Regions from separate parts of the Homo sapiens genome. Here region 2 is linked to region 1. Evidence: promoter capture Hi-C in human tissues and cell types (Jung and others, 2019). All regions are on one chromosome and are shown on one strand. The core of a region is centred on a gene start or on the middle of the fragment in contact, and the rest is flanking DNA. Distances in the headings are between cores, read along the strand shown. Region 1 holds the start of XAF1 (XIAP associated factor 1). Region 2 overlaps TEKT1 (tektin 1).

Region 1 (5,427 bases), core at 2,187-4,686:
ATGCCATCCAGAGACTAGTCATCTGATGCAATTTCCTGTGGTCTGACAAACGAACTCCCATCCAAACACGTTGTGCTTGGGGAGTCTGACTATATGATCACATCTCCCAGGACTCAGGCCCACTCTGACCACAGGATTCTTCTAAAGACACCACCGACAGAAGTGTGTGCAATTGCACCATATAATTTTTGTCTGGGAAGTGAAATATCTCTGTCGTTACATCATCTTCCTTAGCATAGTGATCCCTTAAAAGAAGAAAGCCTAAATAAGATCCCTTCTCAAAGCCAAACTATTAAAACAATCCTTTTTAAATATTCTTTCCTGTCTTCCATGCTGTACAAGTACAGCTTTCACACAATTTCTCTTCTGATCTTCAAAACAATGCACGGAGGGGTGTATTATTCCTGTGTCCTAGTCCAGCCAGGACTTCCTGCTCCCCTTTCCCCCCGATTCCTGCAAAGGTGACATGGCCAGCCCGGCCAATTCACGTCTGAGAGACTGGCTTCCTGTGACAACCTTCACCCCCCTCCCCTGACCCACAGGCCTGACACAAAGAGACTGCCGGAAACTCCCCACAACGGCCAAGTGGGTAGCCACAGTGTCCTGGAAAGGAATTCTAAGCCCACAACAGAGCATTTCTCATCTAGCTGTTTTTTGTTTTTTTTTTTTTAAATGGGATTGGGGTTGGCGACCAGCCAAAGACGGGTGGCAGAATGATGAAATCATACAAGCCCACAGCACCGATTGATGTCGTAGTGGAAATGGGGACAGGCTTTTGTGCTAACCAGAGTGTTCCTACATACACTCTCTGATTAATAATAGTGATGGCCCAGGAACAGCCGTGACAGTCAAAGAGAAACATTGCTGTATTTGTAACATTCCATTTTTTTAAAGAGTGTATATTCATATATTCTTTATGAAATCTAAGTTATCTTGAGAAATGAAAAGAAAATGGCCATTGCTGCCACTTTGAGAGCCCTCCGACTCAGGGGTGTTGTGTGGGTTGGGGGAGATTTCCAACTCCCTGCTTAATTATCTCAAAACACCCCATCCATTCGGGTCAGCCAGCATTTGACTGCCTGCTACTGCGAAGCTCAATACTGCACTCTGCCTAATAAGCACAAAGCCCGCGGGTCTCTCCAGGAAGGCAGGGGTGGTGGGTCAGAAAGAGCTGGCTCTCAAATCGCCCATGCCTGTGATTGGATGGGGAGGAGTTGAGACAATAGACACACAGCCAACTAACCAAAGCCAGAGACAAAGGAGGTAGATTCTAGATCAGTGTTGGCATAGGAGTTGGTCCTGAAGAACTGCTGGGATTTTGATGAGGAAGGGAAGGGTTGGCGTGGGTGGGACAGTCTATAGGAGGAAACATCTTGGAAGAAAATTAGGATGTAGATGAGAAGCAACTTATGGTCACTTCTAATTCCACTCCTATCCCCTGGCCACACATTCCATTCCTCTAAGGTGTCCAATCTATACACCCCTGCCACCACCCCTATCCCATCTCAGCAGGAGACAATATGTGAAAAGAAAGTTCTTCATTTTTCCTTCTTTTCCATTTCTTTCTTCCTGTCTTTCTTTCTTTTTTTTTTTTTTGTAACAGAGTCTCGCTCTGTCGCCCAGGCTGGAGTGCAGTGGCGCGATCTCGGCTCACTGCAGGCTCCACCCTGGGTTCACGCCATTCTCCTGCCTTAGCCTCCCGAGTAGCTGGGACTACAGGCACCCGCCACCTCGCCCGGCTAATTTTTTGTAGTTTTTAGCAGAGACGGGGTTTCACTGTGTTGGCCAGGATGGTCTCAATCTCCTGACCTCATAATCAACCCGCCTCGGCCTCTCAAAGGGCTGGGATTACAGGCATGAGCCACCGCGCACAGCCCTTTTTTTTTTTTTTTTTTTTTGAGACAGAGTCTCGTTCTGTTGCCCAGGCTGGAGTGCAGTGGTGCAATCTCGGCTCACTGCAACCTCCACCTCCTGGGTTCAAGCAATTCTCCTGCCTCAGCCTCCTGAGTAGCTGGGATTATAGGCAAGCACTACCATACCCAGCTAATTTTTGTATTTTTAGTAGAGACGGGGTTTCACCATGTTCGTCGGGCTGGTCTCGAACTCCTGACCTCGTGATCCGCCCACCTCGGCCTCCCAAAGTGCTGGGATTACAGGCATGAGCCACCAAGCCAAGCCCACTCGTTTTTCATTCTTGATATTGACAGACTGCCCAGAGACAGACAGGAGTGGGTAGTGAGGGTCAGAAGGATTAAGGAGCTTGCCTAGCCGATGAGGAAGGGAACAAGATAAGATGCAAACCTCAGTCTCTGACTCTCAGCCAAGTGCTCACTACCCCAACTAGCTGTCAAATGAGGTGGATGGGGCCTTGGTTAGGTACATAGACACCTGAGTCATATCAACCTGGTGTGAATCCCAGCTCTGATGTTGAGCGATTGGCCTAGCCTCTCTCTGCCTCCATTTTCTCTTTTTTCATTTCATTTTTCTTTTTTGAGGCAGAGTCTCACTCTGTCACTGCCTCTGTTTTCCATAGCAAAATGGAGTTAATAATGCTTACATGAGGGATTAAAACGAAGACAATGCCTACCTAATGCTTAGAATGGTGCCTGGAACATAGGAACAATGTTGAAACAGTCTTTCATTCTTCCCTCCTATCACTGTGATCATCAGTACCACCACACACTGCTTCTCATTTAGTGCCTGAATTTTAGAGCCTGCCTGGAGGCTGGAGCCCTGCCTGGACATTTCCCTTAATCTTGTTATCCTCCTCAGAGAGGCGGCACCCACCCCATTGGCAGACGCCACGGGAATTCTCTGGGCCTGCTTGTCATCACTCCAGATGTTGTTTAGAGTTCTTCTGTTAGCACAGCTGTTTCTAGGGTCTGGAAAAACTCTAAGGACCCCCAGGAGGATACACACCAGATTGGGTCTGGGCTCACACCACCCTGCATCCCCAGAGCCTCCCTGGACGCTGTTTGCAAGGTCCTCACCGCCTGGAAGTCCAGGAGCCATTTTTAGGGAACAGCATTCAAGCTCAACATGGCAAGTTCCCTCTTTCCTGCAGGGGAGGACCAGAAGGGAGCCGGAGATGGGGGAGAAGGGTGGGAGGTGGATGGTTTGGAAAAGGGATGGAGACCCAGACGGAGAGAAGCCAGCCAGCCAGGGTGAGGGAACAAGCTGCTGTGCTGCCCAGGAGAGGCCTGGCCTCAGGCTGCCAGCCTCAGGGAGGTAGATGCGGCTGTGACAGCAGCAAAGAATGACGGCCAAGGGCGACAGCAGGGGCTGGCCATGCTGTAAAGGGGCTTCTTGGGAGGGTCCAGCCTCAGGAATCAAGGGGAACTCCTGAGCCGAGAATTCTGAAGATCTCCTCCCTCCCTGAAGCTGTGGGCTGGGCCATCGGAAAACTTTCAGTTTTGTTTCCTTGCCTGCAAGAAACGAAACTCAACCGAAAGCCTGCAGAGAGCAGAACATGGAAGGAGACTTCTCGGTGTGCAGGAACTGGTAAGAAAGTGCTTTCTCCAGCGGCAGACCCGGGCTGGCGAGGGAGAGACGTAGACGACATAGGGCTGTTTCTGAAGGGAGCAGAAAGTGGTTCCTGCATAAGAACACTTAGGAGGACAAGCAGCTGGAGACCGTGGGCCCCAAGGGTAGGAGGGTTTAAACTTGGTAATCTCTGGGTGGGGGTGGGCAGCATTACCTCCACTTCACTGCAGCCCCTTTCCCCCAAATGTTAGGCTTTCTGGGACAGTTCTGAAGCCAAATAGCCCGGCCAGTGGTCCCAACTGGGCTACTCATACTTGTGAGACCTTGGGTCCTAATTTGGGGTTCTGATACTATGACCTTCACACCCATCTGTGAAAGAAAGTGTCCCACGGAGATTCTCCAGGACTACTCTCACCCTCCTTGGAAAGGGAGCCGTGGGGCGGGGCAGGGGGGACAGAGCAGGGGGCTGGGACCACACCTCTAACGGGAGGGGGGGCGCGGAATCTGACCGATCAAAAAGCCCCATTCTCAAAGCTCCCTACCTGTGACAGGGACCTGAGTGGACCCTCCCCAGAGAGCTTTGCTCCAGCCAGACCCTTCAAGTACTCTGGTTTCTCAACCAGCCCAGGAAGAGCAGGGGGAGAAGGGGCCAGGTCAGGCAGAGGAGAGAGAGCAGAGGAAGGGAAGATGATGCTGCCTGTGTGCCCGCTGCCTGGGCAGAAGAGGAGTGAGGCTTTGACAGTCCCTCTCGGAGCACGTCCCCTGTGCCAGGAACATGGGCATGTAACTCTTCTCGTCCCCTGGGCCTTTACGGCTACAGCCACCCCATTTCCCTTCTCCCAAGCTGCCACAAGCAAGAGCTGATGGAAATGAAAGGAGTCATTTCTTTCTTTCTTCTTCTTTTTTTTTTTTTTTTAAGATGGAGTTTCGCTTCTTTTTGCCCAGGCTGGAGTGCCTGGAGTGCAATGGCGCGATTTCAGCTCACTGCAACCTTCATCTCTCGGGTTCAAGTGATTCTCCTGCCTCAGCCTCCCGAGTAGTTGGGATTACAGGCGTGCACCGCCATGCCCGGCTAATTTTGTATTGTTTTAGTAGAGATGAGGTTTCACCATGTTGGCCAGGCTGATCTCTAACTCCTGACCTCAGGTGATCCACCCGCCTCGGCCTCCCAAAGTGCTGGGATTACAGGCATGAGCCACCACACCCAGCCAAAAGGGGGCACTTCTTGGCAAAAAGGACGGTTAGAGAAAAATGCCCTGCCCAGGAAGTGGGAGGCTCAGAACCCTTCCTTCACTGTGGTCTCCAGGAAGAACCTCGGAGTCTCTGTGAGTTAGCGCAGGTGAACCTGAAGGCAGGGGAGACTTGGGAAGCTCTCGCTTTGGAGATTTTGGAAGTTGGCATGGCCCTGGCAGGAAGCGTGAGCCTAGCAGGGCTGCGTTCCTAACACTGTGGACCAAACAGGGGCACCAGAAAACAAGAAAAAAGATTCAAGAGAATTTGGCACTTCTCTCAAATTATTTAAATTGAAATAATTTAATTATTTACATTATTTAAAATGAAATGTTTCATTTTAAAAACAGCCTTATAGAGGTATAATTGACCTACAATAAACCTCACATTTTAAAGGGTAGCAATTGATAAGTTTTGGCCTAAGTTATATACATCCATGAAACACCATCCCCGTAATTGAGATAATGAAGCTTCCTGTCACCCCAAAAGCTCCCCATGCCCCTTTGTAATTCCTCCCTCCTGCTCCTTCCCATGCCCTGCCCCAGCAATGTAAGAGCTCTGTAGATCATCCTTATTCTTATTAGATGCTGCCTCACTGTTCTGACTTTTGGACCCACACAGGGAGTGTGGGGCAGGTGGTGTCATCATCATCACATGTTCAGTGCTTAAGGCCTCTGGAGATCTAGCCCTGGGTATGAAATACAGCTCCATGTT
Region 2 (6,046 bases), core at 3,326-5,825, 63 kb after region 1:
GAAGACATCAAGCCTGGGGCACCCAGTTGAACAGGGCCTGGTTTCCCCACCCAAGGAACCATGAGATAATACATGTTTATTGTCTTAAGCTGCAAAGTTTTGGGATAATTTAGTATACAGCAAAAGATAACTAACACAATGAGAATGCTTCAAACTTGTGCACTTTTCTATATGTATGTTTTATTTCAAAAAGAAGGTTTTAAAAATTAAAGTGAGTTAGGCTGTGATATAATGTTAACCGAAAAATGCAAATTAGATGTCACAGAAAAGGTACATAGTATAATCTCATTTTTATAAACTAAACAAAGTTTACCGTATGTGTGTGAGTGCACATGTACATATGTTTGTATGAACATGCAGCTAACACCAGTTATCTCAGTGGATGTAAAAACAGAAAGGGGAGGCCAGGGGCGGTGGCTCACGCCTGTAATCCCAGCACTTTGGGAGGCCGAGGCGGGCAGATCACGAGGTCAGGAGATTGAGACCATCCTGGCTAACTTGGTGAAACCCCATCTCTACTAAAAATACAAAAAATTAGCCAGGCATGGTGGCGGGCGCCTGTAGTCCCAGCTACTTGGGAGGCTGAGACAGGAGAATGGCGTGAACCCGGGAGACGGAGCTTGCAGTGAGGTGAGATCGCGCCACTGCACTCCAGCCTAAGTGACAGAGCAAGACTCTGTCTCAAAAAAAAAAGGGGGGGGGAAATTCACTTGCTCTTCCTACATTTTTAGATTATTTTACTTGTTAAAAACATGTATAGATGAAGGAATAAAATGTTTTATTCTTTAAAGGTTTAAAGGTTTTATGTCAGACTTTCTTAGTTAGTGAGCCTAACCTGGAGAATCAGGAGCCTCTGGGCCCAATGTCAAGGTCACCATTCAATGCTGCCTTTGCCCCAAGCCCACCACTTCCAAGCTCTCAGCCAGCTGCAAGGACGAGCCGCTAGGTCTTGCCTATCTGAGAAGCACTGGGTCACCCGCGAGGAGGAAGACGGCAAGGCCCACTCACTTTGGCTCAATCCTCACGGCGTTCTCAGAATATCTGATGTTTGGTGAGTTGTTGTTGAGCGAGAAGCAGATATCATCTATGGTCAGGGCCACAAACTTGTCCTTCAAATCCTTCTCAAGATTGTACTTGGCAGAGCGGTTCATCCTGAAGGGAGAAAGTAAACTGGGTTTCTGCCTCTGGAGTGCCCAGGTGGCACCCACGTCCTCAGAGAGGTCCTGGAAAGTGAAGCTGCAGCTAGGTCTGGTGCAGGATGATGGTACTGCCCCCCACCCATCACCCCAACACTCATGCGTATACCATTTGATGCCCGGTGACAAATCAACGTAACCAAATGTGGACTTGGAGATTCTCCCTTCTACTGTTACATTTTCCAGTGTCACCATTGCAGCCTACTATGTGTGAGGGGTCAGCCTCACCAGTGGGTTCCAGCGTCCTCCAGTTTATAACCAGGGTGAAATCCAGCTCCAGCCCCACCCTTACCAGAGGGCGGCTGCCATGTATGAGGGATGTGGCCAGCTCTTACCCTGAGTGCTGGGGCAATCTGGGGACACAAAGTGGGAGCGGGAATGTTGAACCCCTTTCTTTCTGTGCCATGGAGCCCAGCTTTTGTGGACACTGCCTTTTCTCAAAATTCCCAGTGGAGATTTGGAGGGCAGGCCGAAGAGTCATACCGAATCTGCTCGGAAGCCTCCTCCAAGGTACGGGTCAGCAGAGCCATAATGCCCTGGATGATCTCAGCCTCCTTTATCAGCTCATGCTCCACTGTGTCGTGCACCAGGTCAATGCCAATGCGCTTCTCCCTGGCAGGGGGAAAGGCAGCCAGTCAGCCAACACGTGCAACATGAGGTGACTCAACATTGGCTAATGGCTGCACACTCAGAACTATCTGCACGACTGATTTGAGTGTCACCCGATCCATCCGATGACACAGTGGGTGACAGATATTAGTTGGTGTCTATGTGACTTCAAAATATCCAAACACAATGAAGAAAAATTGATTGATGACTGGTCACTTGGTCTGAAACATGCCAAATGGACTTTTTTTTCTCTCTCTCTTTTTCTTTTCTTTGTATTTTTTTTAAATTATACTTTAAGTTCTAGGGTACATGTGCACAACGTGCAGGTTTGATACATAGGTATACATGTGCCACATTGGTTTGCTGCACCCATCAACTCATCATTTATATTATGTATTTCTCCTAATGCTATCCCTCCCCCAGCCCCCCACACCCTGACAGGCCCCGGTGTGTGATGTTCCCTGCCCTTTGTCTAAGTGTTCTCATTGTTCAATTCCCACCTATGAGTGAGAACATGCAGTGTTTGGTTTTCTGTCCTTGTGATAGTTTGCGCAGAATGATGGTCTCCAGCTGCATCCATGTCCCTGCAAAGGACATGAACTCTTCCTTTTTTATGGCTGCATAGTATTCCATGGTGTATATGTGCCACATTTTCTTAATCTAGTCTATTACTGATGGACATTTGGGTTGGTTCCAAGTCTTTGCTATTGTGAATAGTGCCACAATAAACAAACGTGTGCATATGTCTTTATAGTAGCATGATTTATAATCCTTTGGGTATATACCCAGTAATGGGATTGCTGGGTCAAATGGTAATTCTAGTTCTAGATCCTTGAGGAATCACCACACTGTCTTCCACAATGGTTGCACTAATTTACCCTCCCACCAACAGTGTAAAAGCATTCCTATTTCTCCACATCCTCTCCAGCATCTGTTGTTTCCTGACTTTTTAATGGTTGCCATTCTAACTAGCATGAGATGGTATCTCATTGTGGTTTTGATTTGCAGCCAGATGGACTTTTTTTCCCAAGAAGAGGAAAGTTTTAAATAATAATAATAAATTCAAAGACTTGTTTCCTTCCTTGATCCTCATTCAGTGTTTAGACAAACAATTGAACATAGAAAGATGTTTTAGGGTGGGCGCAGTGACTCACGCCTGTAATCCCAGCATTTTGGGAGGCTGAGGCAGGTGGATCGCCTGAGGTCGGGAGTTGGAGACCAGCCTGGCCAACATGGAGAAACCCCGTCTCTACTAAAAACACAAAATTAGCCAAGAGTGGTGGTGCATGCCTGTAATCCTAGCTACTCAGGAGGCTGAGGCAGGAGAATCATTTGAACCCGGGAGGTGGAGGTTTCGGTGGGCCGAGATTGCACCATTCCACTCCAGCCTGGGCAACAAGAGCGAAACTCCATCTCAAAAAAAATTTTAAAAGATGTTTATAGTAATAATAACTATTAATAATAATAACACCAATAGTAATATTGCCTCTGCCAGTGAGCACTTACTCCATGACAGGCATTGTGCTGAGCTTTATTAATATATAAACATTCTTTCTTAGCCCTTTCAAGTACAGATGGGGAAACTGAGTTTCAGAGAGACTAAGTGATCTACCCAGTGTCACAGAACTGTGTGCCACATGTGCTTCTAGCCAAGATGCCATCCTCCTCCCAAACTGACCCTGCTACACAACGTTTTGCTCTTTTTCAACCTGCATGATAGTGCTTGGAAAGGAGGTTCCCCTACTCACTAGCTGGGTGCCCTTAGCCACTATATAACCTACCTGTGCCTTGGTTTCCTTTTCTGTAAAATGGGGGTAATTATTAGTACTTCATAGGATTGTGGCACACTACAAATGAGCTATAAAAGCATAAGCTACAGTACCTGGCACATAGTACATGCTCAGTAAACTTAGCAGCCTCTACGTTATCATTATCCTCAGGCTTAGACTTGAGCCAACTGGGTGTTGAGCTCTTTGATGAGCTGCTATTTCTCTTTGCTTCATAGATTTCTAAATCTGGCTGGGGAGACTGCTGCCTGGTTCCTGCAACGGGTCCTGTTTAAGCTTATGGAAGGAACAGGGCTTTCCAGGAAGACAGGGGCATGGTGCATTTGAGAAACTGCAAGTAGCTCCACACACCTAAGCACATCCCACTACTGGGGACAAGATATGGATCCAGAGAGGTCACTGGGGGCCCTATCATGATGAACCTTGGTTTGCTAAGCTAAGAAGCTTAAAATTTATCTTGAAGCCATTGGGGTTTGAAGGATTCTAAGCATGGCGGTGACCGGGAAAAATCTGCATTTGGAAAAGTTCACTCAACAGCCAGTGTGCAGGGTGCACTAGATTATAGGGGACTATGCTAACAGCAAGAAGACCTGTTAGGGCACTCCAGCTAGGTCTGCGGCAGAACCCAGGTCTGGAAACCAGCATCACCCCAGAGTAGAAAGGATCATTCTATTCACTGGATTTATAGGAGGGAAATAATAATAAAAAGCACTATGTTCCTATAGTGCTGTCTGGATTACAAAGTGCTTCCGTGTGGCTCTGCATGGGAGAGACATACTGTCCCCTGGGAGCTGTAGTGTCTGTTCTCACCTTCTTCCTTGGCAACAGAACCCCTGGTTTTTTGGCTGAGCACCTGGCTGCCCAAAGTAAAACCAATCATTTCCCAGCATCTGTTGGTGTGGCCATGTGATTAAGTTCTGTCAATAGGATGCAAATAGAAATGATGAATGCCAGACCCCACTTACTCCTACTTGCTGGAATGTAGACATAATGGCTGGAGCTCCAGCTGCCAACTTAAACCACAAGGTAACATTAGGAGTGAAAGCCATGTGCAGTAGAACAAGAAGATAGAAAAAGCCTGGAACCCTAAAACTGTGGCCCACCATTCCAACCCTGGACTGACTATCTCTAGACTCTTTGAATGTAAGAGAGAAAGAAATCGTTTTCTTTAAATTCAATATTATTTTAAAGTTTTCTGCTACCCACAGCCAAACCTAGTCCTAACATATTTGAGTTGAGTTAGTCAAGAGCAGAGTTGAGGCATGAACCAAGTCCAGTGCCCCTTGCACTGCCCAGCACCAGGGGCATGCTGGGATAACTTCAGGCTCTAAAAGAACACCTGCTCAAGTGCTGTGTTCTAACTCACCATCGCACACAGCCGGCATTTACTACCCAGCATCTCATTTGTCACAACACATGAATCATTTGAGGGACCTTCGCTCCTACCTGTATGCCAGGCATGTCTCAGTGATGTGCAAGGGCTCTTTCAAGGTCTCCAGGGCTTTTTCCAATCTGATCTTATATATGAGTAGATCATCAGTTACATTCACAAGCTGCTCAAGTTTGTCATCTAACTCCTTCTTCCAGAACTGGACTTCCTCGAGTCTCTGTTCTGAAGCACACGGGGAAGTTACACCAGGGCTAATCTATCCCAAGGTAGCCAACATTTGAATTAGAAACTTGAAGACTGTTGTAAAACCACCTGTGACATGCTCTTTTCCTCTTAGTGCTGTGCTATTTGGGGCATCTTTTCATCTTTTTAAATGTTTATTTGCAGGAAGGAAGGAAGATATATTTTCTTACAGTCCACATCAGATTTATCATTCTACACCCACTAGTTCTTCAGTGCCCACTGTTTTTAATAACTTTTAATTTTATCAAAGATATAAATGTGTGTTGTTAGAAAAGTCAAATAGTATCACAAAGAATTAAAACTCTCTGACCTGTCCCCATCCATTTGAGACGGAGTCTCACTGTGTCACCCAGGCTGGAGTGCAGTGGTGCAATCTCTGCTCACTGCAAGCTCTGCCTCCCAGGTTCATGCCATTCTCCTGTCTCAACCTCCCGAGTAGCTGTGACTACAGGCATCCGCCACCACACCCGGCTAATTTTTTGTATTTTTTAGTAGAGACTGGGTTTCACCATGTTAGCCAGGATGGTCTCGATCTCCTGACCTCGTGATCCGCCTGCCTCGGCCTCCCAAAGTGCTGGGATTACAGGTGTCAGCCACTGCGCCAGGCCCCTTATCACTTCTGACATTTGCTTATACTGCTATTCACTCATTATCAGTTTTGATATTATATGTTGATTTCCTGTGATGAAAGATAATGATTTGCTCTTAACCAACTCACACAACATACTTCCGTCTCCCAATATAGTTGTATCACCATTTTGTTAAACAATAAATAAGTAAACTTACTATTTATTTACATTTTGTAAATATATAAATGTTAT

The links. Contacts are between HindIII fragments. The study calls those that stand out against the background at their distance.
Region 2: a contact is called between a fragment that was not itself captured here and the fragment with the promoter of XAF1 in region 1, in 1 of the 25 tissues and cell types used here (bladder).

What each region holds. Positions count from the first base shown.
Region 1 is chr17:6,752,610-6,758,036 of GRCh38, forward strand. It overlaps XAF1 (XIAP associated factor 1), which reads left to right and starts at 3,437. Exons shown (of 7, transcript NM_017523.5): 1 at 3,437-3,501. The coding sequence starts at 3,470. RefSeq lists enhancers at 1-115, 3,094-3,613. The HindIII fragment of the contact is 6,790 bases long and covers 1-5,391 here.
Region 2 is chr17:6,814,155-6,820,200 of GRCh38, forward strand. It overlaps TEKT1 (tektin 1), which reads right to left. Exons shown (of 8, transcript NM_053285.2): 3 at 5,039-5,204; 4 at 1,680-1,808; 5 at 1,009-1,152. Among named protein-coding and RNA genes, the nearest start is that of TEKT1, 15 kb to the right of the region's middle. The HindIII fragment of the contact is 6,754 bases long and covers 1,199-6,046 here.